2 separate regions of the Homo sapiens genome follow, and region 2 is linked to region 1. The links are contacts of gene promoters, found by promoter capture Hi-C in blood cells and fetal thymus (Javierre and others, 2016). All regions are on one chromosome and are shown on one strand. The core of a region is centred on a gene start or on the middle of the fragment in contact, and the rest is flanking DNA. Distances in the headings are between cores, read along the strand shown. Region 1 holds the start of WFS1 (wolframin ER transmembrane glycoprotein). Region 2 holds the start of STX18 (syntaxin 18).

The links. The method cuts DNA at HindIII sites, captures the fragments that hold promoters and counts their contacts. A CHiCAGO score of 5 or more calls a contact.
Region 2: a fragment that was not itself captured here is called in contact with the fragment with the promoter of WFS1 in region 1 in 1 of 17 cell types (non-activated CD4 T cells); the score reaches 5.4 in non-activated CD4 T cells.

Annotation. Positions count from the first base shown.
Region 1 is chr4:6,266,778-6,271,943 of GRCh38, reverse strand. WFS1 (wolframin ER transmembrane glycoprotein) reads right to left here and starts at 2,094. Exons shown (of 8, transcript NM_006005.3): 1 at 1,930-2,094. RefSeq lists a silencer at 2,007-2,116. The HindIII fragment of the contact is 3,425 bases long and covers 1-2,662 here.
Region 2 is chr4:4,539,233-4,544,398 of GRCh38, reverse strand. It overlaps STX18 (syntaxin 18), which reads left to right and starts at 2,351. Exons shown (of 11, transcript NM_016930.4): 1 at 2,351-2,602. The coding sequence starts at 2,435. LOC124900165 reads right to left here and starts at 2,268. Exons shown (of 6, transcript XM_047416490.1): 1 at 1,924-2,268. It overlaps STX18-AS1 (STX18 antisense RNA 1 (head to head)), which reads right to left and starts at 2,268. Exons shown (of 6, transcript NR_037888.1): 1 at 1,924-2,268. RefSeq lists enhancers at 2,183-2,477, 2,202-2,481. The HindIII fragment of the contact is 1,321 bases long and covers 2,186-3,506 here.

The DNA of each region.
Region 1 (5,166 bases), core at 845-3,344:
GCAGGTGGCTGGGAGGTGACTGCTGGAGAGAGGACACAGGAGGGAGAGGCTGAGTGAGCAGCGAGGCGGGTCCCTGAGGGCCCGAAAGAATGCCGGCTCCTGGCTCGGGAGGCGGACCTGACCCGATAGCCCAGAGGGAAGTGGCAGCTGAAGAACCAGCAGGGCTGCGTGCAGCCAGGCCCGGATCGGGACCAGGGAGGAGCCTGGGGGTCGTCCAGGGAGAGGCGAGGGTCCTGAACCAGGGCAGGCATCCGAGTGAGGCTCAGGAGCCAGGAGAGACCCAACTGGGAGTGAGGAATGAAGGGCACAGGGGGTGGTCTGGTTTGTGGCTGGGGCTGGCTGGCTGTGGTGGTACCACTTCCGGAAGTAGGGAAGTGGGAGGGGAGGGGAGCCGTGTAGGCATAAAGCTCCCGACCTATTATGATTCTTATTGCCACCGTCAAGGATGGGTGTTTCGGGTCTGTCTGGCAGTGCAGACATCTCTGGGGGTTGAGACTGAGCTGAGGTCCCCTCTGTGACCAGCCCCAGAAGCCTGTCCAGCACTGGTCCGGGATGGGCAGGGGAGGCCTAAGTCAGAGACGCCCTCCATGCTCTTCCATCCTGGGAAAGAAGGTGAGATGGGGTCTCCCAGCCAACTTTTCCTGTGTCTGCGAAGGGAGGACAAACCAGCAGGTAGGGAAAAGAGGCTGAAATGTGGAGAAGCCTCCCTCCAAATCCCTGGTTGGATACAACGGAGACCCCATGGGAATCACAGACCCTTGGACACAGAAGTAAACAGGTGGCGACAGTGACAAAGGTGGCCTCTGGGCTTCCCGTGGGCTCCCTCTCCTGCTGCAGAGAACAGGCAGCCAGCACATGGGGTACCCAGGGCACAGCTCCTTGAGTGATGGATGCTGGCATAAGAGAAAGCCCTTTACAAACTGCAAAGCCCTGGGCCAAATGCCAGGGGTCACTGTCCAAGGTGAGGAGAGACGGGGCTGCTTCTGGAGAGATAGGGCAGAGGCCTCACACCAGGCTCTGCCCCATCAGCTTCGTGGTCCTGGGCTGGCACCAAACCCTGCTGAGCCTCAGCTTCCTGGGGTGTCAAACGGGGACTATAACTTCTCCGCCTAAGGCTACTGAGAGGGTTAAATCTGGGTGGTGGGGGGTTGCACAAATGCGACTTCCTTGGAATTCATAACATCATCTGCTAAGTGGGTGAGAGGCCAGGGCGCCATCACATCCAAAAGGGCTGGGTAGGATTCTCCAGAAAGTTTTCGTTGATCAAACAAAAAGCTAATGATCCAGAGGGTGGAGTTCATACGAGGCAGGGTCCAGGTGCTGCCACTGAAACCCCTCAACTCTCTACTGAGGGGCCCCGAGAGAGAGAGGAACTGCCACAGCGCTCCTAAGTGGGCTGTGGGGATTCAGAATGACCCCTAAGCTGCCCCTCGGGCGGGCCGGGTCCCCCTGGGGGACTGAACCCCCCTTCCCCCCCACAACACCTCCCGGGGGCCCAGGCGCGTTCCAACGGCCGGGCGGGCACCGAGGGCGGCCGTGGGTCCCGGGACCGCGGGGGAGGGGCATGACGGGGCAACTCGGGGGGGATGGCGCGGGGCGCGGGGAGGGGGCCTGCCCGCCGGCCGCTCCGCCTCTCGGGCCTGCTGTCCCGCCCGCGGCGGGGCTCCAGGCGACAGCGCGCGGGGGACCGGGGCGCGCCCCCCGGGTGACCCGTTCGGGCCCGGAACAGGGGTCGCCTTGCGCGTTGCAGAGCGGGCGGGACCCCCGGCCCTCCAACTTCGGGGACCTTGTCGGGACTTTGGGGCCAGCCACCCATCAGCTCGGAAGGGGAAACTGAGGCCCGAAGAGGACAGTGCCTCAGGGCTCTTGCCCGCCTCCTGCGCGCTGCCCACAGCCACCGCGCCACTGCCCCAGCGCCGAAGTACTCACCGGCCCGTGAGTGGGCCGCACGCGGCGCTGCGACGCCCTGGGGCCTCTGGGCCGGCAGAAAAGTTGTTCGGGAGCAGCTGAACGCGGCGCAAACGGGAGATCTGCGGCCGCGGGGGAGCAATCTGCACTCGCTGCTGAAGAGCCGGCTAGCGCGGCCTTCTGCACGAGGGGGCGGGGCAGGGGCGGGGCCTTCGGCCTCCCTCCACTCCAGACGCGGCCCCCCGGATGCGGCGCCAGCTCGGCCTGCTGAGTGGCCGGTGTAGCCGCCAATCACTCCACATCTCCGCCAATCACGGTGCGCCTCGCCTAGCTGCGGCCCGGCACTCCCCCTGCGTGGTTGGGCCCGAGGGGCCAGAAGGCGGGTCCGGCTCGCCCACAGCGAAAGTTTCCGAGCGGACTCGGGCCCCGGCCCCGCCCCCGCCCCGCCCGCGGAACGTCCAGTTGCTTAGCGAGGCCGCTCGCCTTCTCCTGTAACAGGTGGTTTGGACCCGTGGAAAAGGCTCCGGCCACCTTTCATCCACCACTCCGGCCTCAGCGTCCCCAACTGCAGATTCATTATATTTGCTGTTGCAATATTAACACACGTCTTGAGCGCCTATTCCGGCGCTGCAAGAGAGTCTAAGGGCTCCCCTAATAACAGCAGCAGAGATGGAAAAATGGGGCCTGTTTGAAACGAGTGTCTGCAGCCAAGTACTGCTTTCAGTGCCCAGAATCAAATGCAGTGTAGCAAGCTTTTCACACGGTGACTGTGGGATTCCTTTAAAGTGTGTGTTAGCCCAGGGAGTGGGCAAGGCTCAGGCAGTTTGGAGACTCTGGGAGTTTGGTTCCTGTCTGGGAGGCGTGGTTTGGAGATGAGGGCGAGGGTCTATCCTTGAGAGGCCCTGGGGAACGTGAGACCCTGCCTGCTCTGTCTCTGGTCCCCACAACCAACCTGAGCTACCTGTCCTAGTTATCACAGCAGAAACTGGGGCTCGGAGTGACTGTCAGAGATAATGCTTACCAACATGTTGGGAGCAAATATTCCAGATGGCTTTGGAGATGAGTTCTGAACACACTACTTCGGAGGACTTTTGTCAAAGCGGCGTAGTTCATGTCAGTCACCTCATTTGATTCTCCAGCTGCCCCCACTGCCCACCCCCGATCCCCAATGTTCACGTGTGACCCTGTGAGGCTCACAGAGGAAGGAAGAACACCTGCCGTCAGCCTCGCCTGCTCTGTCCAGGTTGGCTTAGGGGCTTTCACAGCTTTCAAGGGCCCCCCTAGTGACCCAAGGAGGGAGGTGGCACTGAGCCCATTTTTTATTGATGTGAAAATTGAGGCTCAGACATAGTTATTTGCCCAAAGTCTTGAAGATGTCTTTCCACCTTATCACACACTAACTGTAGAAAATTTGGAGAATTACTAAAAGTAGAAAGGAGAAAAAAAATCACTCAAAGATGATCACTGTTCACATTGTGAGATTTATGCACATTTAAGAAAATAATAAATATTAATGTGAACACACAATCACAGAGAGGCTGAAGCACTTCCCAAACCCTTTGCAGGGGCTCATTAAGCAGAGAGAAGAGGACAGATTGAAAAGTTCCTCCTGTGGAGGTCTAAGGGAAGAGAGGAAGTGCAACAAAAAATCTACAAGATGGCTTAAGGAGCCTCTATCAGAACACAGCAACACTGAACATACTCCACGGAGCTAAGAGACTGAAAAAGCAACAGGCAAATTCAGAAAGAGAAGAGTGGAGGTGAGGACAAATGAGCAAACTGGAAGATAATGTGGAGTAAATGCTTCATGATGTAGAGGAAAAGCACATGAAAATCATCAGGACAAAAAGCAGAGACTGGAAAGACAGTTCCAGGAGGTGTATTGCACAAAGGACAGGTACTCCAGGAAGAGCTGGAGGGGAAACAGAGGTGAGCAAAGTGCCAGGAGAACGTGTCCCTGGAAATCCCAGATGCCAAGGATAAAGAGACGGTCTTGCAGAGTTCCAGAAAGAACAGGTCACATCTAAGGGGAGAAAAGTTGAAGTGGTTCCTAGGGGACTTTGGAGCAATGTCCAGGGACTCTGATGATAGGATCAAGGATCCTTACCATGGCTACTACAGGATTCATCTATGTGGACAAAAGAGAGAAAATATCCACTGTGGCAAGACAGAGAAAGGACCTCAGTGATGTCCCCTTTCAGAGGAAGATATTCAGAGTTCCCCCGTCACCGAGACAGTTCAATCACAGTAGAGATTTCAAGATAGAGCAAACGCTCAGAACAGGAAGTGGTGTTAAGCAATGACCCTTGCAAAATATACAGTATGGATAATCCACATGTGCCTGTGATTTTGTACTAGCAGTGCCACATAAGGATTCTTAAAACATAAGCTACATGCTTCAAGAGAAAGTTGTATTAGCCTGGAACTAAAAAAAAAAATAGAATCTTATCACAGAGAAGTCAGAATATTTTAAGATCACATTTGGTTGAGGGGAGAAGGAGGAAGTAAAAGGATCTGATTTGGTGAGTGGGGAAGGAAAGCCTTATTGGTGGTTGGGAGGGGTGCTTCATTACCATTTACTTTTAATACATTAGCAGGGAAAGATTGGTTTAATTATGACTCTCAGCTGGGGAAGGAAAGCCTTATTGGTGGTGGGGAGGGGGCTTCATTACCATTTACTTTTAATACATTATCAGGGAAAGATTGGTTGAATTATGACTCTCAGGAATTGGAAAGTAGCAACTCACGGGAAAGAAGCAGAGTAGAACTCCTGAATTACTAGGTAGAAGTTGGGGGAGGGGTGGAGGGAGAGTAAGGAAGCAAAATTAAGGGGGAAAGTAAATAATAGCAAGAACAATAAGCTTAATAATAGTAAACATAAGATGAGATAAAATAAATAAAGCCATGGCTACCCGCCTTCGTAACACGGTGAATGGGCTGAATTTCCCATCCAAAGTCTGTAAGATTGGGGCAAAAACTAAAGTCCAGTTAAGCGCTATTTACAAGAAACACACCAAAAATATTGAGAAGTAGAAGATCACAGCAGACATTTGAAAAATGGCAAATTACTATTGATAAGGAAGAACGCATGATGGAAAGCATTCACGGGAAGAGTGGTATTATGTAAGGGTGCCAGGCACAATCCACAAAGATTTCATTGTCATGAATCTGAATGAGCCAGAAAATCTAGTAGCCACACACTTAAAGCAGTAACTGCTAGAAATACTAGAACTTATTAAAACACAACTCTGGTGGGAG
Region 2 (5,166 bases), core at 1,597-4,096, 1.7 Mb after region 1:
TCTTTGTGACTTATTTAGGAATTTTATGTACTTGTGGTCACTTGTGGATTTACAGCCTGATGTTTTGAGCTCACTTGGGTCTTATATCCACCACAATCTTCTCTGCTCTTGCAAATCCAGACAGAAAACTTAGATCTTTGTCCCTACCCTTCTACCCAAAATATCCAACTGCACCAAACACACGGTTTACACAAGGCACCACTCACTGAAGGCTTGGTGTAGTTCAGCCTCCCTCCCACTCAAAGATCCTTCCCAGTTACCTACTTTGTACTTTCCCGGCCCCCTCCCTGGGTTCTGGCTTCTCTTTTCTTCCCCCCAATTCAATCCCCCTCACTTTATTATGCAGGGCAATCTCTCTTTCCTTCTACTCTACCCCAGGCTTAACTTTGCATGGCCAAAAACTGATTAATGTCTGGATTAAACAAAGGGCCATTTATGCAAGATAGAATCATTGGCAGAGATTTTGTAATTTCTTTCTCTTTTCCTCAGTAGGTGGAAGAAAGCTGTATGGAAATTTATTTTCCTTAAACTGCAAGAAGTGGCTACAGTTTGGGTTTAAATAATCTTTTCCTGGCCGGGCGCGGTGGCTCACGCCTGTAATCCCAGCATTTTGGGAGGCTGAGGCAGGCGGATCACGAGGTCAGGAGATCGAGACCATCCTGGCTAACACGGTGAAACCCCATCTCTACTAAAAATACAAAAGAATTAGCCAGGCGTGGCGGTGGGCGCCTGTAGTCCCAGCTACTCGGGAGACTGAGGCAGGAGAATGGCGTGAACCCGGGAGGCGGAGCTTGCTCCAGCCTGGGCGACAGAGCAAGACTCCGCCTCAAAGAAAAAAAAAATCTTTTCCTTCCTCCTTTCTGGTAAATATATACTTTCTTGACATCTATTTCTGATAAACTTTATTTTTTTAACACAGTGGTTCTCAAACTTTTGGTCTCAACTCTTTTGCACACTTAAAAATTATTAAGGGCTCTAAACAATTTTGGTTTATATTGACATTATCGACATTTACTATATGAGAAATCAAAACAAAAACTTGATGTTTTTGAAAGTCTTTTTTTGGAGTCTGGCTTAATAGAAAACAGCTGTTCTGCATTTACTCCGTTGCAATATCACAGTCTCCAGCAAACTCAACTGTATGCAACTCATAAGAAAATCAGAGCGAAAAGGCAAATAACATCTTAGTATTGTGAAAATTTTATCTTGATGACCATTAAAACTGCTGTTTTAATACATATTCTACTTGTGCTTCCTCTTTATGAAAAAAGAAATCTTGAAGAAATCAATGAGATTTTGAATTAAAACTGAACCATAGGCCAGGCACGGTTGCACGTGCCTATAGTCCCAGCTACTCAGGAGGCTGAGTCCGGGAGGATCGTTTGAGCCCTGGCGTTCCAGCTGTAGTGAGCTAGGATGGCGCCTCTGACTAGCCACTGCAATCCAGCCTGGGCAACATAGTAGACCCCCGTCTCAAAAAACAACACAAAACAGAACATGAACCTAAAATGCAGAAGAAACTCATTGATTGAGTTGTCAATTTTAATAGCTATGGCTCAAGACGGTACAATTAAAAACTATGCATGAAGGATGAAGAGAATCCAGCGGCATTAGGGCCACTCTTTCACCTTTGTCTCCATCTAAACTTCCTATTCATCCTTCAAATCTCTGCACAGGTGACGCCTTTTCTCTAAAGCCTCTTCCTTTACCACAAATAACAGTGATTATAATAATAACATTATTAACGATTACTACCATTTATTGGCCACTTACTAGGAGCCAAGCAACATCAAAACACAGCACGCGTCAGCTCACTTAATTTTCACAGTAAACCCCGAGGAGGATGCTGGCTTCACTTTAAAAAGAGGTGACTGAAGGTTGGAGAAGAAAGGCCTCTGGCCTCTAGCTCTGTGCCTTGCACACCTGATCTGTCTCAGCATTTATTGCATCCCGAGGGTCACCGTCCACGTGCCTCTATCCTGCTCAAGGTGAGTTCTTGCAGTCAAAGGTCAAGGGTGGCTCGTCTCCACTTCCCCCGCAACCAAACCGCCCGGTCTCAGTGAGGGAGCCGCCAGAAGGGAAGGAGCCTCCTAGCTTCCCGGTCCTCACGCTCCCGGAGCCCACACGCCCCAAACAGACACAGAAGAGCTCGCTGAGCTCTCCGCGCAGCTAAACCCTCCAAGCTTTGCTGGGAGAAACCGATGCCCGAGAGCGCGTCGCGAGGTTCCTCCTCCGCCAGGTGCGCCGGCTGAGGCCGGAACCTTTTTCCTCCCGCCGCGGTAGCAGGGCGCAGGCCGGAACCTTTCTTCTCGCGTCGCCGTTGCCGGGGGGAGGCGTGTGGGGCAGGACCAGTCCTTCAGCGGCCGGGTTCGCGCCGCGGTCGCCGGCTGCTTACGTGGGCGGGCCTAGTGTGGGGCTGAGGGTGCGGGTCGCTATGGCGGTGGACATCACGCTGCTATTCCGGGCCAGCGTCAAGACCGTGAAGACGCGGAACAAGGCGCTGGGAGTGGCGGTGGGCGGCGGGGTCGATGGCAGCCGGGACGAGCTGTTCCGCCGGAGCCCCCGGCCCAAGGGCGACTTCTCCAGCCGGGCCCGCGAAGTGGTGAGCTGGTTGCTATGGAAACGGCGGGTTGAGGAGGGGGCAGTCCTGCGACAGGGACCCCGGGCCCCAAACCAGACCCCGTCCCGTAAGCATTGTGTGAAGGGGGTGGCTCTAAGGGGGACAGAAGAGTTGGCCTCAGAGACCCTACAGCTTTTTGGGGGAAGGAACAGCCTTATTTTGAGGAAGGGGGACGCATATTGGGGAACAGATTTCTCCTGCGGCGACAGGGATTGGGGGACAAGAAAGGAGATCCTCAGAAATCTCTATCTGGAAAGTGCATGGGCGGCTTTGTGAGGTCATGAGTTCGCCGTCACTACAGACTTGCACTCAGGGGAAACCTCCTGACAGTCCTTCGCTTCCTGTTGCAGCACTGACCACACCATATTTGCCTGTTCTATTTACTTGTCTGCCTCCCACCCCTAGTTGAGATTAAAAACTGTATTCAGCCGAACTCTTTCTTCCCTTTGTCTCTGCAATAAGTAGGACTCAGTTCCTCTTGAGACGGGTTTAGGGTAATCTTTCGCAAACACAGTGTTACAGTCACCTCAACTACTTTCTGTTCCCTGATCAGAGCAGGTGTCCCTTCATCTCCCTGGGAACAGGAACCTTTTCCTTAAGGGCAGGGACAGTGTTGTTTTCATCTCAGAATGCATGACTCATAGCATTGCTTAGTAAATGTTTGTTGAATGAGTGAATGAACAAATGGCTGTCTTTCCCATTAAACAGAAAACTCCATAAGGGGAGAGCTGTTTGTCTTGTTCCCTTTTGTGTTCGTGACACCAAGGAGGTATCTAGGTTTTGTGGGGCCTACAGCTTATATAGTTCTGTCTGCCCTCTTCAAGAAATAAAAATCACCAAGAAAGATTCAGAGCTTTGGAAGATTGAAGAGAGGGACCCTAAAGCTTAAGCCTCATTAATTTCACAGTAAATCCTTCTCTGCTTGGCATACACTTGGCACTGTATAGACACTCAGATATTTTTGAATGAATGTAGTCATGCATGCATTAATGACAGTTAGCAGAGGATACTTAAACATTAGAAAGGGGATTGGACCAGATGAATACACTCGCCCTATTGATGACCGTCTATGAAGCACCTACCTTCTGACCAGCCTCGTGTTAGAGTAATATGATGTAAAAGCAGTGGTGGAGTAGACGGACATAGACATAAAACAAGTGCCATAAAGCCTTGCAGGTGTTGTGTAGGGCACAAAAAGAATGTGGTCAGTTCTACCTGAGGACCAGAAAAGGCTTTATAGAGGCGATGATGCCTAAAACAAATCTTGAAAGAGGATTAGTTGGTTCCAGTGCAGAAGGACATCTCAGGCTAAGAGAATAGTATGCGCTAAGCTGTGGAGGTAGGTAACAGTCTGACATAAGTTGGTTCAATAAACATTTGAGTGAGACTGGAATGTGGGACTCTCATAAAAATTGGACGCGGAGATCTTAAAGGGCTTTGTGTATCATTGCAGAGTTTGAATTTTGCCCTGTAGATGGTCAGATGTTATCTGGTAGAGAAAGCACCAGAGAAGGAGCCAAGAGACGAGGTTGTTGTCTGAACCCTGCAACTATTAGCTATATGATTTCATTAAGCAAGTTTTAAGACCTCAGTTTATTTACCTGTAAATGGTCCTTTTTTTCTCCTCCTCCTTTTAAAAAACTACCTTGGTCCTCTATATGTAACAAATTAAAGTGGGAGCTTCCTAGGTTGAAATAAGAGGAAGAGAAACAGGACACTCTCCCTCCCAGTTTGGCCCAAGCACTTCTTGAGATTCCTTTTGTAGAACTGTGGTATGAATATCACAGTATTGGCTTTTTAAGGGTCCCTTCTAACTCTGAAACCACTGATTTATTAACACTGTGCTAATTTTGAGTCCTGCTCAGGGAAAGGGGGGATTTGGGAATGGTAGAGACAGGAGGCACAGTTGGGTTGGCAAGCCCTTTGGAGAGCCCTGTGATCACTTCCACCTCTCCCTGAGTGGTGAAAATGTGTTTGAGTTTTGAGTTAATGGGCCTCAGGGACAGTAACAGTCCCATAGGGTGCTGAGTTCCCTGTCACTGGAAGTGATTAAACAGAGTGATGACTGCTTTTCAGAGATGTTTGAGAAAAGCTTTGTGCATATGTCACAGGGTTGGACCGCATGACAATGCAACTTGCAGTTCTGCTATGTATTGATGTGAGTAGGTGTCACATCACCTTAAGTGAGTTCATGGGCTGTGTTGTTCAGGGACACTGTCCCCCTGACGTAGAGGAAACATACATTCTTTTAAGCAATTTTGATTTTATGTTGTCATTGCTTTGTGTATTATCTCCTGTTCTTGCAACCGTTCCCCACTCCCCATCTTCTCTTGTGGGAAGTTTAACTAGAAGAGCTAGTGATGGATGTCCTGTGCTTTTACTACAATTAGATGTCAAAAGTTTGGCTGTTATTTTGTTTGGCCTGGATTCCTTATAGAGAAAAGTCTGGTAAATACCAGAAGCACATATTCTAATTCAGGTTTAGCCCTGGTTGTCAGACTTAATGAAATGTAATAAGTTATAGTATGCCTTTTGGTAAGTGCCTT